5 separate regions of the Homo sapiens genome follow, and all the other regions are linked to region 2. Evidence: promoter capture Hi-C in human tissues and cell types (Jung and others, 2019). All regions are on one chromosome and are shown on one strand. The core of a region is centred on a gene start or on the middle of the fragment in contact, and the rest is flanking DNA. Distances in the headings are between cores, read along the strand shown.

Evidence for each region. The method cuts DNA at HindIII sites, captures the fragments that hold promoters and counts their contacts. A contact is called where the count stands out against the background at its distance.
Region 1: a contact is called between the fragment with the promoter of ZNF738 here and the fragment with the promoter of ZNF737 in region 2, in 1 of the 25 tissues and cell types used here (small bowel).
Region 3: a contact is called between a fragment that was not itself captured here and the fragment with the promoter of ZNF737 in region 2, in 1 of the 25 tissues and cell types used here (adrenal gland).
Region 4: the fragment with the promoter of ZNF493 here is called in contact with the fragment with the promoter of ZNF737 in region 2 in 1 of the 25 tissues and cell types used here (spleen).
Region 5: a contact is called between a fragment that was not itself captured here and the fragment with the promoter of ZNF737 in region 2, in 1 of the 25 tissues and cell types used here (dorsolateral prefrontal cortex).

What each region holds. Positions count from the first base shown.
Region 1 is chr19:21,357,672-21,360,371 of GRCh38, reverse strand. It overlaps ZNF738 (zinc finger protein 738), which reads right to left and starts at 1,372. Exons shown (of 5, transcript NM_001355237.2): 1 at 1,229-1,372. The coding sequence starts at 1,231. RefSeq lists enhancers at 1,011-1,310, 2,102-2,659. The HindIII fragment of the contact is 7,981 bases long and covers 1-2,700 here.
Region 2 is chr19:20,564,469-20,567,168 of GRCh38, reverse strand. It overlaps ZNF737 (zinc finger protein 737), which reads left to right and starts at 1,388. Exons shown (of 4, transcript NM_001159293.2): 1 at 1,388-1,531. The coding sequence starts at 1,529. All of the region lies in intron 2 of LOC105372316 (a long non-coding RNA gene), which reads right to left. RefSeq lists enhancers at 1,536-1,585, 1,796-1,955. The HindIII fragment of the contact is 4,540 bases long and covers 1-2,700 here.
Region 3 is chr19:21,126,977-21,129,676 of GRCh38, reverse strand. No RefSeq gene overlaps it. Among named protein-coding and RNA genes, the nearest start is that of ZNF431, 14 kb to the left of the region's middle. RefSeq lists a cis regulatory region at 528-859. The HindIII fragment of the contact is 5,563 bases long and covers 1-2,700 here.
Region 4 is chr19:21,395,729-21,398,428 of GRCh38, reverse strand. It overlaps ZNF493 (zinc finger protein 493), which reads right to left and starts at 1,296. Exons shown (of 4, transcript NM_001076678.3): 1 at 1,162-1,296. The coding sequence starts at 1,191. RefSeq lists a silencer at 1,019-1,257. The HindIII fragment of the contact is 12,821 bases long and covers 1-2,700 here.
Region 5 is chr19:21,498,579-21,501,278 of GRCh38, reverse strand. LINC00664 (long intergenic non-protein coding RNA 664) reads right to left here. Exons shown (of 11, transcript NR_037194.1): 11 at 1-8. Among named protein-coding and RNA genes, the nearest start is that of ZNF429, 5.7 kb to the left of the region's middle. The HindIII fragment of the contact is 3,356 bases long and covers 1-2,700 here.

The DNA.
Region 1 (2,700 bases), core at 123-2,622, 790 kb before region 2:
GTATCTTACTGCAAGCAAGAATGAGGTTGGAGTAATGAGGGATGGGGGTTAGACTTAAGACCCTGATTGGGACCCAGGTGAAAAATGCAGCAGAAAATCAGTTCCCTGTGGAGTGTGAAAATAATTAAGTGGCAGGCAATTAGACTGAGGTTTCTCTAGTCCCTGGGTTCCTACTTCAATTTAAAAAATCTAACTCAGGCGCATTATTTTTAATTACTAAATTCAGAGAAACAAAATTGAGGCTTCACCTACTATAAACTGCCAATTGAGCTCCGATTACATAACCAGGAAATTTTCACCTTTAATGTACAAATTAAAAAACCACGTAACTGTACCTAACCAATTACTAAATTTGGTTTTCTTCATCATGCATTTTACAAAAGACTTTCTTTCAAGCCTCTCCCATAGACCACAAACTAAAAACCACAGCTTGGTGCTCTACAATTCTAGAACCACTTTTTGATTAAATTATTTAATAAGTTAATTTTTTTTTTGAGACAAGAGTCTCGCTCTGTCGCCCAGGCTGGAGTGCAGTGGCACGATCTCGGCTCACTGCAAGCTCTGCCTCCTGGGTTCACGCCATTCTCCTGCCTCAGCCTCCTGAGTAGCTGGGACTACAGGCGCCCGCCACCACGCCCGGCTCATTTTTTGTATTTTTAGTAGAGACGGGGTTTCACCGTGTTAGCCAGGATGGTCTTGATCTCCTGACCTCTGATCCGCCCACCTCGGCCTTCCAAAGTGCTGGGATTACAGGCGTGAGCCACCGCGCCCAGCCTAGAACCACTCTTTGATTAAATTCTTTTAATATTTTTGCAGTGACTCCCATTAACTTTTAATAGGAGATAATAGGAACTGGGAACCCCACGGAACAAACCTCTTCCCATTCATGAACCCGCACCCCAAGTCAGGATTCTCCCCTGACGACCCTCCCACGGTCCCTGCACAATCCGGTAGAGAAGCGGCGCTGCGGGTGCAGAGATTCCCCAGAGAGGGCTCCAGGCAAGGGCACAGTCACTATGCAGGGAAGAGACAGGACGCCCGGGGGCCGGGCTGTCGGCGCAACCGCCATCTTATGGCTGAAGGCGACTGAGGCCGAGCTGGGCAAGGAGAACTCGGGGCGCAGATTGTAGAGCTGACTGCGGGGAGGCCTGAGTCTCGCCACAGCCACTTCCCACCGGTTCCAACCAGCCCTTCCCCTCTCTCGGGATGTTGGACCCCGCACTCTCACCATTTCTAGGCTTCCAGGGTGTCCCGGCGTCTTAGCTGTGGATTCCCAATACCTGCAGGTCACAGGACCAGAGGCTGGGCCTCTAGGAGCAGAGGACACAGAGCAGTGAAGACGAGACCCGGAGTTCCAGCGGCAGCCAAAGACAAAGAAGCGGACAAATCCCGCCACATCCCGGAAGCCGTCCTCTCCGCTCAAGCTGCGTGCCTGATTGGACAGTTCCCAGCCCAGCGTCGCTGATTGGATAACGTTTAAAACCCCACCCTCTCAGGCCCTGACTGACAGAAGATGTAATTAGATGCTGGGCTGAATGAAGAAAGAGTGACCGCCTAGGCTGCAGCCTTTTCAGGCAGGGCTTCCTCCTTGAGCTGAGATAGGCCCACCCCAAAGGGTATTTGCATTCAACCTTGCGTATAAGGTCATATGCATTTGTAAATACTATATCATATGGCTATACATAAATGAAAAGGATATAATAACAAATGTTTTAAAATTTCAGGGTTTTTTTACTTTCCTGGCTTACGGTCCTTTGAGCAGGCAGCCTGAGATTTTAAAAAGGAGGTAATCCTCTGAAATAAAATGTGAGCCACGTGAATTTTGAATTTTCTGGTAGCCAAACTAGAAAATTAAAAAGAAACAAGGGGCCAGGCATGGTGGCTCACGCCTGTAATCCTAGGACTTTAGGAGTACAAGGCGGGCAGATCAAGAGGTCAGGAGTTTGAGACCAGCCTGGCTAACATGGTGAAACCACGTCTCTACTAAAAATACAAAAATTAGCCGGGCGTGGTGGTGGACATCTGTAATCCCAGCTACGCAGGAGGCTGAGGCAGGAGAATTGCTTGAACCCGGGAGGCGGAGGAGGTTGCAGTGAGCAGAGATCGCGCCACTGCACTCCAGCCTGGGCGGACAGAGCGAGACTCCGTTTTGGGGGGTGAAAAATATAAAGAAACAAGAGGCCACGCGCAGTGGCTCACGCCTGTAATCCCAGCACTTTGGGAGGCCGAGGCTGGTGGATCACGAGATCAAGTGATTGAGACCCTCCTGGCAATATGGCTAAACCCTGTCTCTACTGAAAAAAATATAAAAATTAGCCAGGCGTGGTGGCGCATGCCTGTAATCCCAGCTACTGGGGAGGCTGAGGCAGGAGAATCGCTTGAACCCGGGAGGCAGAGGTTGCAGTGAGCCGAGATTGCGCCACTGCACTCCAGCCTAGTGACAGACTGCAACAACAGCAACAACAACAACAACAATAACAAGGAACAGGTTGAATTGATTGTAACAATGTAATTAACCTAATATATACAAAATATCATTTTAATGTGTGAGGAATATGTAATTATTAATGAAGTATATAAATATTTGCAACTAAATTTTTGAAAATAACTCTGTGTTTTACCTTTCTAGCATATCGCGGTTCAGACCAAGCACATTCCAGGCACCCAGGAGCCACACATGGCAGCTCTGATGTCAATGGT
Region 2 (2,700 bases), core at 139-2,638:
ATAAGCAGATTGATGTAATAAGCCAATCTTAATAAGACGAGGAAATGGGAAAAGATATATATATATATATATATATATATATATATATATTTTCCCTCACCAGACTATGGGGGATTCACCACCAGAGAGGGAGGCAACAGCCACAGCTCTAGAGTCAGCCACCCGTCCATCGTACACAGACAAGGAGAGGTCTTATGAAGCTTCAGGGCGGTCTGGGACCTTAGCTCTTTTGTAACGAGTTGTTTGGCATAAGGCCCAGTGATGAGAGCCCTTCACGACTTGCCTCAAGGAACACAAAAAGGTCAACCTTTTTTTGTGATTGTCTATTGTTTTTCAACAACTAATATATAGGAATAGATTGAAATAGAGATTTCTTCAATACAGCGCTGGATGAACACCTCAGGGGCTCACACAACCTGTTCTGGGACTTGGTGACAATTGTTTGTGTCCACATTCAATTGAGTTCAGATTTAATATGTGACTTTTCCTCCACAAATTCCCCTGTCTTGATGAATCGGCTCTGTCTAGGCAAAGGGTAAAATAAACCCCTTGGGCTGTTACACAACCTCCGCCTCCTGGCTTCAAGTGATTCTCCTGCCTCAGCCTCCGGTGTAGCTGGGACTACAGATGTGCACCCCCACACCCAGGTAACTTTTTATATTATTAGTTATTATTATTATTTATTAGTTATTATTAGAGATGGGGTTTCACCATGTTGGCTAGGCTTGTCTTGAACTCCTGACCTCAAGTGATCTGCTCACCTTGGCCTCCCAAAGTGTTGGAATTACCAGCGTGAACTATCCGTGCCTGCCTCTAAATGATTTCTATCTCCTATAGCTGTTGGAAATTAAAGATTGTTTCAAATTGAAAAAATAAAAAGAATGTGGACAAAAATAAAATATAAATAGTTTTTTAAAATTACGAGATATTACAAAATATATATGTAAATCTGGAGTGCTCAAAAATGACAAATTTGATTTATTTATAAGGTTTTATTAAAATTAGCTTTAATAGATTTTACCATTACCAAAGTAAAAGTTGATTTTCTGTTGAACAAAAATTTTATGTATTATTAATGACAGCAAAATACTTCTGTTCACCTTTTTAATACATTCAACAAGAAAGAGAGTAAACAAGAGATAAAATATTCCCATGCTCTGGGGTGGGCCTGGCTCAGCTCAGGGAGGAAGCACTGTTTGAAAAGCCAGCTGCTTAGGCTGGCACTCTTTGTTCACTTAACCCAGCATCTGATCATATCTTCTGTCACTCAGGGCCTGAGGGGGCGGGGATTTAAGCATTATCCAATCAGGGACGCTGGGCTGGAAGCCGTCCAATCAGGCACGCAGCCAGAGTGAAGCGGAAGGCTTCCGGGTTTTGCGGGGCCTTTGTCTCTGCAGCCGGAGCTCCAGGTCTTGTCTTCACTGCTGTGTGTCCTCTGCTCCTAGAGGCCCAGCCTCTGTGGCCCTGTGTCCTGCAGGTATTGGGAGATCCACAGCTAAGACGCCCGGGAGCCCCTGGAAGCCTAGAAATGGTGAGAGTGCCGGTCCGACATCCCGAGAGAGGGGGATAGGCTGGTTGGAACCGGTGGGAAGTGGCTGTGGCGGGACTCAGGCCTCTGCGCAGTCAGCTCCACAATCTGCACCCTGAGTTCTCCTTGCCCAGCTCGGCCTCAGTCCCGTTCAGCCATAATTTGGCGGCTACGCTGACAGCCGGGCCCCCTGGCGTCCTGTGTCTTCCCTGCGTAGTGACTGCTCTGGCCTGGAGCGCTCCGTGGGCAGCTCTGCAACCGCAGCCTCCCGTCTCTCCCAGAATGTGCAGGGACCACCAGAGGGTCGTCAGGGGAGAATCCTGACTCGGGGTGCAGGTTCATGAATGGGAAGAGCTTTGGTCCGTGGAGTTCACAGTTTCTGTTTTCTGCTATTCAAAATTTATGGGGCCGGGCGCAGTCGTTCACGCCTGTAATCCCAGCACTTTGGGAGGCCGAGGCAGGCGGATAACTTGAGGTCAGGACTTCAAGATAAGCCTGGCCCAAATGGGGAAACCCCATGTCTACTAAAAATGCAAAAATTAGCTGGGTGTGATGACAGATGTCTGTAATCACAGCTTCTCGGGAGGCAGAAGTGAGAGAATCGCTTGAACTCCGGAGGTGGATGTTGCAGTGAGCTGAGATCTTGCCACTGCACTCCAGCCTGCGCGACAGTGAGACTCCGTCTCAAAAAAAAAAAAAAAATTCCTGGTTATGTAATTACAGTTTAATTGGCAGTTTATAGTTGCTTAAGCCTGAATTTTGTTTCCCCTAATGTAGTAATTTCCCAAAAAATGCACATGAGCTTAGATTTTTTTTTTTTTGAGGTAGAAATCCAGGGACTAGAGCTTCTTCAGTCTAATTGCCTGCCACTTAATTATTTTCACACGCCACAGCGGACTGATTTTCCCTGGCATTTTCCACATGTGTCTCAAGCAAGGCCTCAAGTGTACCCCATGTTCCTCAATTTATTATTTTTATTTTTTTTTTTTTGAGACGGAGTCTCGCTCTGTCGCCAGAGCTGGAGTGCAGTGTCAGATCTCGGCTCACTGCAACCTCCGCCTCTCAGGTTCAAGCATTCTTCTGCTTCAGCCTCTGGAGTAGTTGGGGCTATGGGCACGCGACACCACGCCCAGCTAATTTTTGTATTTTTAGTAGAGATGGAGTTTCAGTAT
Region 3 (2,700 bases), core at 191-2,690, 560 kb before region 2:
AAAAGACAGGAATGTCAGGCCTCAGCTGAAGCTCAGCCATTATAACCCCTGTGACCTGCACATATATGTCCAGATGGCCTGCAGGAGCCAAGAAGTCTGGAGCAGCCAAAAAATCACAAAGAAGTGGAACAGCCAGTTCCTGCCTTAACTAGTTAACCCACCTTATGACATTCTACCATTATGACTTGTTCCCGATAAAGCTGCCCCGCTCCTATCTCCCTTTGCTGACTCTCTTTCTGGACTTAGCCCACTTGCACCCAAGTGAATAAACAGGCTTGTTGCTCACACAAATCCTGTTTGGTGGTCTCTTCACCTGGATGCGCTTGACATTTTGTAAAATGCATAATGAAGAAAACCAAATTTAGTAATTGGTTAGGTACAATTACGTGGTTTCTTAATTTGTACTGTTGTGGGAAAGTAAGGAACTGGAGAGACGAAATGGAGTGAAGGAAAGTGTTTATTTAAGGTGTACACTGGCACAGCGGACACATGTCCTGAAACTCTGAGCCCAGAGCAAAGAAAATGAGTCCCCTTTAAGCATTTTGAGGTGGGCACTGTGTGAAGCAGGAAGCAGGCTTACAGAAATGAGAACAAAGGCTGCTGTGACACTTTTGCAACATGTCTTACATCTCTGGGAAAACTTAGTTTGCAGCTTATGCTTATCTGTCTTGTGACCTTGCAGCTGTGCAAGGAAGAAAGAAACAAGAGTTTACAGAGCCTACAAAATATGTGGAAGGTAGATATGGTTAATGTTTCCTGGGACAGACAGTTAATATTCTCTTCTAACTTCAGGGGGGCTACTTAAATTCTTGTTAGCCTTGGTTAATACAGCAATTCATTCTATGAGCTATTGTTATTTCTCTATTACTATAATCTTTACTATTATTACTTATGCTATTATTCTGTTATTTTCTTAAGTTCCTACTTCAATAGATTAAAGGTGAAAATTTCCTGGTTATGTAATCAGAGCTTAATGGGCAGTTTATAGTTGGTGAAGCCTGAATTTTGTTTCTCTGAATGTAGTAATTAAAAATAATGCACCTGAGTTAGTTTTTTTTAAAGTATGAACCCAGGGACTAGAGACACCTCAGTCTAATTGCCTGCCACTTAATTATTTTCACACAGCACGGGGAACTGATTTTCTGCTGCATTTTTCACCTGTGTCCCAAGCAGGGTTTTTAAGTCTAAACTCCCATGCCCCATATCTCCAGCCTCACTGTGGCTTGCAGTAAGATACTAAATTTCCAGGTTCTTCTGGCATTCCTAAATGCCAACTTTTCCTTCCTAATTCACATTATCACTTCTTTGTCTTTTAGTGTACTTTTTTTATATCATATTTTAATTAATTATTTTTTGGTAAAACATTAAATGGTGCTTTTAAGAAGTTGTATTAACTGTTTGTAAATATTTCCCATGAGGAGAAAGCAAATAATAATCCCCCGATGTTGTATTGTAGAAAATCTCTGTGTCTCTTTTCGTTTTATCTTCTCTAGGCACAGAGATCTTATCAGAATGTTTTTGGGTCAAAGTTCTGCTTTGGAAAATTTATGGGGTGATGTGTCCTCAGCCACCCTTTAGTTTTTTGCTGGTCCTGGGCTTAGTACTATCTGGGGATAAACCGAGATATCTGCCATGCTTATGTCAGCTTGAATGTCCGGTGGATATCAGCTTCTGGTTTATTTTCTCCCTTAGGATGACCTGAAGTATGGAGTGTATCCTTTCTAGGGAGCAAGTGGATACCCTGGGGCTAAGAGGAATCTTCTGGTGTACTCTAACTTTGAAAAGCTGTTAAAATTGCCTTCACCTAACCCAGCTTTCATTTCTTGGAGACAAATTGCTGGTCAGCCAATCAGATGCTGATAATGAGGGGAAAACACAGACATAATTTCTACCCCCTGGATAGAAATTATGTAAGGGGGCAGAAGAATAGTGAAATAAATATAGTAAAAGAAAAAGAGTAAAAAAATTGGGCCAGATGCGGTGGCTCATGCCTGTAATCCCAGCACTTCGGGAGGCCAAGGCAGGCAGAGCACGAGGTCAGGAGATTGAGACCATCCTGGCTAACACAGTGAAACCCAGTCTCTACTAAAAATACAAAAAATTAGCCAGGTGTGGTGGTGGGCACCTGCAGTCCCAGCTACTCAGGAGGCTGAGGCAGGAGAATGGTGTGAATCTGGGAGGCAGAGCTTGCAGTGAGCCAAGATCACGCCACTGCACTCCAGCCTGGGCAACAGAGTGAGATCCGTTTCAAAGAAAGAAAAAAAAAAAGTGAAAAATTTGTGACCAAAAAAATAGTATTGGAACAGAAATTAAAAGAAATTAAAGAATGTGTAAGCAGAAACTCAGTTGTATGTAAGAAAACCCAATTCCTCCTGAGAAAGAGAAAGAGCTGGAGTCCTTTAAAAATTAACGGCCTGTTTTTCTGTGGCTAGCAAGGCTTATCTCTCCTCCTTTCCCAGGCATTTTGAAGACCCTGTTTCTCTAGCTGTGCAGCTGCAAGGTCACTAGATAGATAAACTCAAGTTGTAAAACATGTTTTTCCTTGGAAAGTAAAAAATTATGTAATGCATGTCACAATTAATTGAATAACTGTCTTTGTTTCTCGCTTCTGTAATATGCTTCTCCCTGCACAGATCTCCCCCTGCCATCCCACAAAATGCTTAAAGGGTAACTTAACTCTTTGTTCAGGGCTCAGTCCTT
Region 4 (2,700 bases), core at 47-2,546, 830 kb before region 2:
CTGGTAACATCTCTGTGCCTAGACAAGATGAAAGCAAAAGAGACAGAGATTTACTACAATGCAGTGTCAGGGTATTATTATTTGCCTTCTTTTCATGGGAAATATTTACAAACAGATAACAAATCTCTTTAAATGCACCATTTAACCATTTAATGCTTTGCCAAAAAAATAATTAAAATATGGTATAAAAAAGTACAGTAAAAGACAAATAGGCGATAATGTGAATTAGGGAGGAAAAGGTGGCATTTAGGAACGTCAGAGGAAACTGGAAATTATCTTACTGCAAGCCAGAGTGAGGCCGGAGAAATGGGGGATTGGTTCCAAGACTCTGCTTGGGACACAGGTGAAAAATACAGCAGAAAATCAGTTCCCTGTGGAGTGTGAAAATAATTAAGTGGCAGGCAATTAGACTGAGGTATTTCTAGTCCCTGAATTCTTACTTTAAAAAAAAAATCTAACTCAGGTGCATTATTTTTAATTACTACATTCAGAGAAACAAAATTCAGGCTTCAGCAACTGTAAACTGCCAATTAAGCTCTGATTACATAACCAGGAAATTTTCACCTTTAACGCACATATTAAGAAACCATGTAACTGTACCTAACCAATTAGTAAATTTGGTTTCTTCATCATGCATTTTATAAAAGACTTTCCTTCAAGCCTCTCCCACAGACCACAAACTACAAACCATAGCTGGGTGCTCTACAATTCTAGAACCACTCTTTGATTACATTCTTTAATATTTTTGCAGTGACGCCCATAAATTTTTAATAGGAGAAAATAGCAACTGGGAACCCCACGGACCAAAGCTCTTCCCATTCATGAACCCGCACCCCAAGTCAGGATTCTCCCCTGATGACCCTCCCGTGGTCCCCGCACAATCTGAGAAAGACGCGGCGCTGCGGGTGCAGAACTGCCAGAGAGGACTCCAGGCAGGGCACAGTCACAGTGCAGGGAAGAGACAGGACGCCCGGGGCCCCGGCTGTTGGCGCAGCCGCCAACTTACGGCTGAAGGAGACTGAGGCCGAGCTGGGCAAGGAGAACTCAGGGAGCAGATTGTGGAGCTGACTGCGGGGAGGCCTGAGTCCCGCCACAGCCACTTCCCACCGGTTCCGAGCAACTCCTTCCCCTCTCTCGTGATGTCGGACCCAGCACTCTCACCATGTCTAGGCTTTCAGGGGGTCCTGGCATCTTAGCTATGGATTTCCCAGTATCTTCAGGTCACGAAGCCACACACGCTGAGGACACAGAGCAGTGAAGGGTAGACCTGGAGCTCCGGCAGCAGAGAGAAACAATGGCCCAGCCACATCCCGGAAGCCGTCCTCGCCGCTCCAAATGTGTGCCTAATTGGACGGTTCCCAGTTCTGCGTGTCTGATTGGATACGGTTTAAGGGCCCGCCCCTTCAGGCCCTGAGTGACAGAAGATATGACCAAATGCTGGGCGGAGTGAAGAAAGAGTGATAGCCTAGGCTGCAGCCTTTTCAGGCAGGGCTTCCTCCCTGAGCTGAGCCAGGCACACCTTAGAGGGTATTTTCCCTTAACCTTGTGTATAAGGTCATAAGCACTTATAAATAATATATGGCTATTCACAAATTTAAAAAAATAATTATTTTAAAATTTCAGCTTTTATGACCTTCCTGGCTCCTAGTCCTTTGAACTAGCAGCCTGAGATTTTTAAAAGGAGCCAATCTTATGAAATAAGATGTGAGCCACATGTGAATTTTAAATTTTCTAGTAGCCAGACTTTAAAAATAAAGAAGGGCCGGGCGCAGTGGCTCACGCCTGTAATCCCAGCACTTTGGGAGGCCGAGGCGGGTGGATCGCCTGAGGTCAGGAGTTTGAGACCAGCCTGGCCAACATGATGAAACCCCGTCCCTACTAAAAATAAGAAAAAATAACCAGGCGTGGTGGTGGGCGCCTGTTATCCCAGCTACTCGGGAGGCTGAGGCAAAATAATCGCTTGAACCCGGGAGGTGGAGGGAGGCAGAGGTTGCAGTGAGCCGAGATCGCCCCACTGCACACTCCAGCCTGGTCAACAAGAGTGAAACTCCATCTCAAGAAAAAAAAAGAAGAGAGAAAGAGAGAGAGAGAAAGAAAGAGTGAAAGAGAGAGAGAGAGAAGGAAAGAGGGAAGGAAGGAAAAGGAAGGAAGGAAAAAGAAGAAAGAAAAGTGAAGAGAAGAGAAGAAAGAAAATAAAAGTGAAAGAAAAGAAAGCCGGGTGTAGTGTCCCATGCCTGTTATCTCAGCACTTGGGGAGGCCGAGGCAGGCGGATCACCCGAGGTCAGGAGTGCAAGACCAGCCTAGCCAACATGGTGAAACCCCGTCTCTACAAAAATACAAAAATTATCTGGGTATGATGGCAGGTGCCTGTAATCCCAGCTAATAGAGAGGCTGAGGCAGGAGAATCACTTAAACCCAGGAGGCAGAGGTTGAGGTGAGCCAAGATCACGCCATTGCACTCCAGTCTGGGAAACAGAGCAAGACTCCATCTCAAAAATAAAAAAATTTTAAAAAGAAGGAGAAGAAACAGGTGAAATTCATTGTAACAATTTAATTAACCCAATATATCCAAAATATTATCATTGTAATATGTGAGCAATATGTAAAGATTAATGAAGTATATATATATTTGGAACTGTATCTTTGAAACTAACTCTGTATTTTACCTTTCTAGCAAATTGCAGCGACATTCCAGGCAC
Region 5 (2,700 bases), core at 78-2,577, 930 kb before region 2:
TCATCAATCTGCAATTACAAAAGCAATCCAGTCAATTTAGTTAGCTTTGCTCAATACTATTGTACCTGTAATACTGTGGCAGGCCAGACCTCACTAACAACTGTTTCAGTACTGACTGAGTGGTTAAGTTAAATATTAAAAGCCAGTGACCAGCCGGGCGCAGTGGCTCACACCTATAATCCCAGCACCTTGGGAGGCCGAGGCAGGCGGATCACAAGGTCAAGAGATCGATACCATCCTGGCCAACATGGTGAAACCCCGTCTCTACTAAAAATACAAAAAAATTAGCTGGGCGTGGTGGCATGTGCCTGTAGTCCCAACTATTTGGGAGGCTGAGGCAGAAGGATGGCTTGAACCCTGGAGGCGGAGTTTGCAGTGAGCTGAGATTGTACAGCTGCACTCCAGCCTGGTGACAGAGTGAGACCCCGTCTCAATTAAAAAAAAAAAAAAAGCCAGTGACCTTATACAAAGGCTGGGATGTAACAAAAGCCCATCAAGAGTTTCGCCTAGGCCTTTCTTGGGCCTTATAGGATTAAACAAGTTTTATTGGGGGTCTGAAGAAATTCCCCAGGCCTCTACAAACAGGTTTATTGGAGGTCTGAAGGAATTCACCAAACCACTGTGATTTAGCAGGAGACAAGATAAGGGTAATTACCCCAGCACCTGGACCCATTTAGATTAAGTAAATTTACTGAGGCTGCAGGGGAAGGTCTTCAAGACTCAGACCTTAGTTACAGATTAAATAAAAGAAGTTAATCACTTATCTCTTTAGATGAATGCACACTTACATGTAGACATATAGCTTAGAAGGTATATAGGCTCTGGAAAACGTTGTAATTTTGAGTTGGTCTGGTGATAATTTCCAGGCCTTCTCCCTGTAACTGGTTGCAGAAATAAAACTCTCTTCCTCCCCAGTTCATCTGCATCTCGTTATTGGGCCATGAGAAATAGCAGCCCAACTCTCAGTTTGGTCCAGGAACAATACCTTATTTAACAGTTTTACAACTTGTCTAGTGAAATAAGTATCTTGATCATTAGAGACCTTTCAGAAATGTCCCATGAAAAAAAAACATATTTTCTAATATTCTTTTAGCTACTATTATAACATCAGCCTTCTTGCATGAGAAAGCTTTTATACTATCAGAAAACATGCATTAAAAATGACAACTGTATAAAATTTCTGTATAAATGCTTAAATAGCCTATTAGGTAACAGAAATGTACATAAAGTATTGATTGTTTCTCAGAATTATATGTTTGACATAAAAAAATTGGCCTTAATCTGTTTAGTAATTTAGAATAATCACCACACACACACACACACACACACACACACACACACACACACACAAACTTAATTCATATTTAATTTAGATTATTTTCTGTGATGAGTAATGGAATGCAGAGCTTTTAATAATGGAAGCTTTAAGAAATCAAGAATAAACAAATGGCTTGGTGGCTGTCTAGATTCTTTATGAGTCCACACTTAACATTAAATTTATGTCCTTTTTTTTTTTTTGAGACAGAATCTCCCTCTGTCACCCAGGCTGGAGTGCAATGGTGAGATCTCGGCTCACTGCAAACTCTGCCTCCTGGGTTCAAGCAATTCTCTGCCTCAGCCTCCCGAGTAGCTGGGATTACAGGCACCTGCCAACACACGTGGCTAATTTTTGTATTTTTAGTAGAGACAGGGTTTCACCATCTTGGCCAGGCTGGTCTTGAACTCCTGACCTTGCGATCCACCCTCCTCGGCCTCCCAAAGTGTTGGGATTACAGGCGTGAGCCAGCATGCCCGGCCGCTTATTTTTTCTTATTTTTTGAGACAGAGTCTCGCTCTGTCACCCAGGGTGGAATGCAGTGGCATGATCTTGGCTCACTGCAACCTCCACCTCTCGGGTTCAAGCAATTCTCCTGCCTCAGCCTCTGAAGTAGCTGGGATTACAGGCACCCGCCACCATGGTCAGCTGATTTTTGTATTTTTAGTAGAGACAGGGTTTTGCCATGTTGGTCAGGCTTGTCCCAAATTCCTGACCTCAGGTGATCCACTCCCCTCGGCCTCCCAAAGTGCTGGGATTACAGGCATGGCCACCGCACCCCACCTAGTGTATCTGTTTAGACAGAATAAAACAAGGTATCTATTCATAAGTAACAAATATAGGTTAATAGAAAACTCAAACACAAATATAACTAATGCTATATCTTTCAGAATAGCCCATTCTAATTATTTCATTTCTCATTTGCTAAAATTCAAATCAACTTTTTTCATAATTTTACAGTGTATCTTAATGTCAGAGGCATTTAAACCAGAGTGACTCTATTTTGAATAGTGGCTGGGCAAATTGAGGTTGAGACCTACAGGGCTGCATTCCCCGGCAGTTAGGCATTCTTGGTCACAGGCTGAGATAGAAGGTTAGCACAAGATACAATGCACTTAGCAATTTGTCACAATCTTCTCTGTTAGCAGGGTACAGGCAGAAAAGAAGGGTCACATATTTAGGTCATGTGTCATAGGCGGTCATAGCAGAGATATGTCATTTGTGGGAATGGTCAAGAAAGGAGCTCCCCAACTGCTAGGTGTTGAGCCCAGCTATACATCACAATACCCAAAATATGTGAGGCCCAGAAAAAAAGGAGAGCCACATCACCTAGGTGCTGGGTCCAGCAATATGTCACAATCACCCTTTTTGGCAGGTTCCAGTCA